Regions from separate parts of the Homo sapiens genome. Here region 1 is linked to region 2. Evidence: promoter capture Hi-C in 16 types of primary human blood cells and fetal thymus (Javierre and others, 2016). All regions are on one chromosome and are shown on one strand. The core of a region is centred on a gene start or on the middle of the fragment in contact, and the rest is flanking DNA. Distances in the headings are between cores, read along the strand shown.

Evidence for each region. The method cuts DNA at HindIII sites, captures the fragments that hold promoters and counts their contacts. A CHiCAGO score of 5 or more calls a contact.
Region 1: a contact is called between a fragment that was not itself captured here and the fragment with the promoter of TM4SF19 in region 2, in 1 of 17 cell types (erythroblasts). The highest score is 5.3, in erythroblasts.

Annotation. Positions count from the first base shown.
Region 1 is chr3:196,250,815-196,253,671 of GRCh38, forward strand. The region is part of intron 3 of PCYT1A (phosphate cytidylyltransferase 1A, choline); the gene reads right to left. Among named protein-coding and RNA genes, the nearest start is that of PCYT1A, 35 kb to the right of the region's middle. The HindIII fragment of the contact is 1,188 bases long and covers 657-1,844 here.
Region 2 is chr3:196,336,974-196,339,959 of GRCh38, forward strand. TM4SF19 (transmembrane 4 L six family member 19) reads right to left here and starts at 1,415. Exons shown (of 5, transcript NM_138461.4): 1 at 1,291-1,415. It overlaps TM4SF19-DYNLT2B (TM4SF19-DYNLT2B readthrough (NMD candidate)), which reads right to left and starts at 1,447. Exons shown (of 6, transcript NR_037950.1): 1 at 1,291-1,447. RefSeq lists enhancers at 939-2,138, 1,505-1,799 and a silencer at 1,548-1,719. The HindIII fragment of the contact is 5,119 bases long and covers 1,044-2,986 here.

The DNA of each region.
Region 1 (2,857 bases), core at 1-2,500, 86 kb before region 2:
TGAGGTTGAGGACCAGATACACTATGCTGAGGATCAGATACACCATGCTGAGGTTGAGGATCAGATACACTATGCTGAGGCTGAGGACCAGATACACCATGCTGAGGCTGAGGACCAGATACACTATGCTGAGGATCAGATACACTATGCTGAGGTTGAGGACCAGATACCCTATGCTGAGGCTGAGGACCAGATACACCATGCTGAGGCTGAGGACCAGATACACCATGCTGAGGCTGAGGACCAGATACACCATGCTGAGGCTGAGGACCAGATACACCATGCTGAGGCTGAGGATCAGATACACCATGCTGAGGCTGAGGACCAGATACACCATGCTGAGGCTGAGGATCACATACACCATGCTGAGGCTGAGGACCAGATACACCATGCTGAGGCTGAGGACCAGATACACCATGCTGAGGCTGAGGACCAGATACACCATGCTGAGGTTGAGGACCAGATACACCATGCTGAGGTTGAGGATCAGATACACTATGCTGAGGCTGAGGACCAGATACACTATGCTGAGGCTGAGGATCAGATACACCATGCTGAGGTTGAGGATCAGATACATCTCCTTCCTGTCTTCAGGGCAATGAATGAAGGAGAAGGAAAGTAGTTCTCAGGAGGTTTATGAATTTTTGTTTTCAAAAAGCTTTACTCATAAATAAGTAGATTTTAAACCAAGAAATCATACACTGCTGAAAGGAGTATCAGCAACTTTCAAGAAGGGCAATTAGGTCGTATCTATCAAAAGACAAACGACAAATGCTTATAGCTGTGGCCCAGCTTTTCTAATTCTGGGAATTATCTCACAGTAAATATAGATGTTATTCATTGCAGTACTGTTTATAATAGCAACAGTCAGGAAACGACCTACATTTCAACGGAAGATTGAATATAGCATAATACACCCACTAAAAGGTGGGAGGATATATAAACAATTTACTTAGATATTCACAGAAATGGGTAATATTGGTGGCCTGTTATAGGGATACCAGGTGGCTGTGAGACAGGTCTTGAGAGGGAGACATTTTACTTTATGCCCTTTTTGTATTTTATGGATATTAAACTGTGGGAATGTATTGATTTCACTTGATTTGATTTTTTGAGACAGGGTCTGGCTCTGTCACCCTGGCTGGAGTGCAGTGGCATGGTCTCAGATCACTGAAACCTCCACCTCCCAGGCTCAAATGATCCTCCCGCCTCAGCCTCCCGAGAAGCTGGGACTACAGCGCACACCACCACGCCCCGCTGACTACAGCGCACCCCGCCACGCCCCGCAGACTACAGCGCACCCCGCCACGCCCCACTGGCTACAGTGCACACCGCCACGCCCCACTGGCTACAGCGCACACCACTACGCTCAGCTGATTTTTGTATTTTTTGTACAGATGGGGTTTCACATGTTGCCCAAGCTAGTTGTATTTTTATTTATTTATTTATTTGAGATGGAGTCTTGCTCTGTTGCCCAGGCTGGAGTGTGGTGACATGATCTAGGCTCACTGCAACCTCTGCCTCCTGGGTTCAAGTGACTATCCTGCCTCAGCCTCCCAAGTCACTGGGATTACAGGCGAAAGCCACCAAGCCGGGATAATTTTTGTATTTTTATATTCGTATCCCATGTTGGCCAGGCTGGTCTCAATTTCCTGACCTCAAGTGATCTGCCCGCCTTGGCCTCCCGAAGTTCTGGGATTACGGGCGTGAGCCACCATGCCCAGCCCAGGCTGGTTGTATTGATTTTATAATACAGGAAATAAAAATTTTAAATTAAATATACCAATCCAATGAAAAACTAAGAATTAATTAATGGATTTAAGAGTCAGAAAGGTCATAGCTCAAGCTTTGACCAAGCTTTCCAACCAGCTTTCTTCCTCTGTAACCTTAACTTCCTTATGCCTCAGTTTTCTCATCTATGAGAGAAAGCAGGCTGGGTACAGTAGCTCACACCTGTAATTCCAGCACCTTGGGAGACCAAGGTAGGAGGACTGCTTGAGCCCAGGAGTCTGAGACCAGCCTGGGCAACACAGTGAAACCCTATCTCTATTAAAATTATTTTTTACTGCCAGCATGTGTCAACTAAAAAAAAAGAAGAAAAAAATATTTTTAAAAAGATAATTTTTAATAAGACAAAGCAAAATAAAACAAAATTTGAGCATATAATCCCCCTTCTATGTCCCAGAAATCACTGCATTGGCTCTATGCCTATTAAAAAATAATACATTAAAAAGATTTTTGGGCCGGGCACAGTGGCTCACGCCTGTAATCCCAGCACTTTGGGAGGCCAAGGCAGGTGGATCACCTGAGGTCAGCAGTTGAGGCCAGCCTGGCCAACATGGTGAAACCCTGTGTCTACTAAAAATACAAAAATTAGCTGGGTATGGTGGTGGGCGCCTGTAATCCCAGCTACTCGGGAGGCTGAGGCAGGAGAATCTCTTGAACCCAGGAGGCAGAGGTTGCAGTGAGCTGAGATCGCGCCACTGCACTCCAGCCTGCGAGACAGAGCAAGACTCTGTCTCAAAAAAAAAAAAAATTGAAGTATCCCAGAAGTCACGTCCATGAAGTAACTAACATAGTTCCATTTTCCCTAAACAAGTCCAGAGGGGCTATGATCTCACACTATTCGATCCTGAAACACAAGGGATAGAATATACAAATGAAGACTACTTTGTTGTTTCTTTGCTACTAGACAGCATACAGCAGGGAAATTTTGCTCAAGAAACACATTGCCTGGATGGTGGCAATAGCACAGAATGCTGTTGATCAAGTGGCTGCTTGCAGCACAGCTAATCATCCTATGTTAGGCCAAGTAGATCACTGAACCTTTTCTCAGACCAATCCCAGATGCGCCTCT
Region 2 (2,986 bases), core at 165-2,664:
AACGATGAAAAAGATGTAATCCCTTTCCTTGAGGAGCTTAAAGTCTAGTGGGGACACTGCTGACGCAAAAAGCAATTCTTTTTTTTTTTTTTTTTTTTTTTTTTTGAGACACAGTCTCGCTCTTGTTGCCCAGGCTGGAGTGCAGCGGCATGCTCTTGGCTCACTGCAACCTCCGCCTCTCGGGTTCAAGTTATTCTCCTGCCTCAGCCTCCCAAGTAGCTGGAATTACAGGCATGCACCACGCCCGGCTAATTTTGTATTTTTAGTAGTGATGGGTTTTCGCCATGTGGGTCAGGCTGGCCAAAAAGTAATTCTAATCAAGTGTGGTAAGAAATAGAGCAGACATGAGCAGGGCGGGAGAGGGCCTCTACCCCAGTAATGTCAGGTGACTATCAGGTGATGGCCAGGCGGTTGTTACACTGTCTTTCTAAAATAATATTGGTCACAGCCAGCGTTGGGAAAGACAGTCTCCCAATAGATAGAAAATACCTGAACTTGGTGATCAGCAGCTTCCTGGTAAGAGCTCAGGAATTGGGCGAGTGGGCTCAAGCATCTACACTAAGAAGCAAAATGGTGGAGTTTAGCTGGTGTGTGTGACCTTCCTCTAGTGCTGCTCCGCGGGTAAGGGAAAAACGCCTCAAGTGAGCATGCGCACGACTTCAGTAAACACACTGCGCATGCGGCCCCTCCCAAGTGCCTGTGCGGCAGGCAGGCGCCAAGTCAAGGGTCTAACAGCACATTTGGGTGTCTCAAGTCACGCACTTGGCCCTTTTCCAAGTGTACTTTACTTCCTTTCATTGCTGCTCAAAAACTTTTTAATAAACCTTCACTCCTGCTCTCAAACTTGCTTCAGCCTCTCCCTCTGCCTTAAACCCACTTCTGCCCCTCAGCCGAATCTCTCCCCCGAGAAGGCAAGGATTGAGTTTGCTGCAGACTCGCTGGATTCACAGCTGGTAACAGTAAGTACCAGGCAGGGGCATCCAACTTAAGGTGTCATGGAAGCACATGGAGGAACCTAATCCTATCTGGCAGAAGCAAAACGAAGCTTCCCGGAGGAAGGGCTGCCCATGCCCAAACTTGATGGACGATGAGATACTAGGCAGGAAGAGTATTCTAGGTGCAAAGGCCAGAAGTTGACAGACTGAGGCAACAGGAGAAGGTAAGTGAATGGCGCAAAGTCACACAGACGCCAAGCTGCAGAGCCAGGCTCACTGGAGTGGAAGCGTGCACTCTCATCTGTGAGGCTAGGCTGTTCCCTGGCCGTCACCTCACCCTTTCATCTCTGCTTACCTGCATCTGGTGTCAAGAATCAGAATGGGAGAGACAGAACCTGGAGAAAGGCTGCGTCTTCAGAGTGGGGCTCCACTCCTCCAGCTCCAGGGCTGGACCTGAAGGTTGTCTTTCCAGGACTCTTTCCAGGAGGGCCAGGGAGGCTCTGTATATACGTAGAGGTCACCCAGGCGTGTGTGTGTGCGCGCCCCCACGCCCCTGCCCACAGGCCTGCATTGAAGGCGCTTCCGCTCCCCGGAGAGCCCTGTCCTGATGACCCACCCTCTGCTCATTTTCATGTGATTCTAAGGCAGGAAACGGGAGACATGGCCTCATGAGCTCCGCTGTCCTGATGAGTCACTGGATGCACCCGTGAGAAACACCTCACCCTCCGCTCTCCCCAGGCAGCAACACTTGCCACACCCCAGCTGTTCCTGTCCTCATCTGCCACCCCGCGAAGAATTTCGGCTCTTTGACAGAACAGCACCGAGCAGGGCAGCCACCCCTTTTTCCTCATCACTCTCCTTACCTTGCCCTTGGCTGACTCGATGTGTTGCATGGTTCCTGTACTAGACGTCTAACTTTTTTTTTTTTTTTTTTTTGAGACAGGGTCTCACTCTGTCACCCAGGCTGGAGTGCAGTGGCATGATCTCGGCTCACTGCAACCTCCGCCTCCCACACTCAAGCAATCCTCCCACCTCAGCCTCCTGAGTAGCTGGGATTACAGGCACCTGCCACCATGCCCGGCTAATGTTTGTATTTTTAATAGAGACGGGGTTTTGCCATTTTGGCCAGGCTGGTCTCGAACTGCTGACCTCAGGTGTTCGCCTCAGCCTCCCAAAGTGCTGAGATTACAGGTGTGAGCCACCGCACTCAGCCTCTTGTTCAAGCCCCAGGCCACTATCATCTTGTACCATACTCTCACCAAATTGCTGAGGATTTTGTGGTGCTCTCTGTGTGGGAGATCCGTGACCCTCTATGGACAAGCTCCTATTCAAGATTCAGTTCAAACATTCCCAGTGAAGTCTGCCAGGATTTCTTTACTCCGAGTTAGGTACTTCTTTCTCTATGCTCCCATTGCATTTTAAACATCTAGATATTATATACAGTAAAGTGCACAAATCTTTTCTTTTCTTTTTTTTTTTTTTGAGACGGAGTTTCACTCTTGTTCCCAGGCTGGAGTGCAGTGGCACAATCTCAGCTCACTGCAACCTCTGCCTCCTGGCTTCAAGCAATTCTCCTGCCTCAGCCTCCCAAGTAGCTGGGATTACAGGCACGTGCCACCACGCCTGGCTAATTTTGTATTTTTAGTAGAAACACGGTTTCTCCATGTTGGTCAGGCTGGTCTCAAACTCCCGACCTCAGGCGATCCACCCGCCTCCGCCTCCCAAAGTGCTGGGATTACAGGTGTGAGCCAGCACGCCCAGCCTAAAGTGCACAAATCTTAATGTTAAAGTCTGATGAATTTTTACATGTATACCCTGGTGAACCAGCACAGAAATCAAGATACAGGACATTCCAAATCCCCAGAGGTTTCATTGTGTCGCCTGTCATTCGTATCCCTTGTCCCCAGTGTTAACTTTCATTTTGGCTCTTATAATAATTGATTAGGTTTTAGTTGTTCTTGAATTTCACATAAATGGAATCAAACAGTTTTCTTTAAAAAAAAAAAAAAAAAAGGCGGTTTTGCTGTGTCATCCAGGCGGGAGTGCAGTGG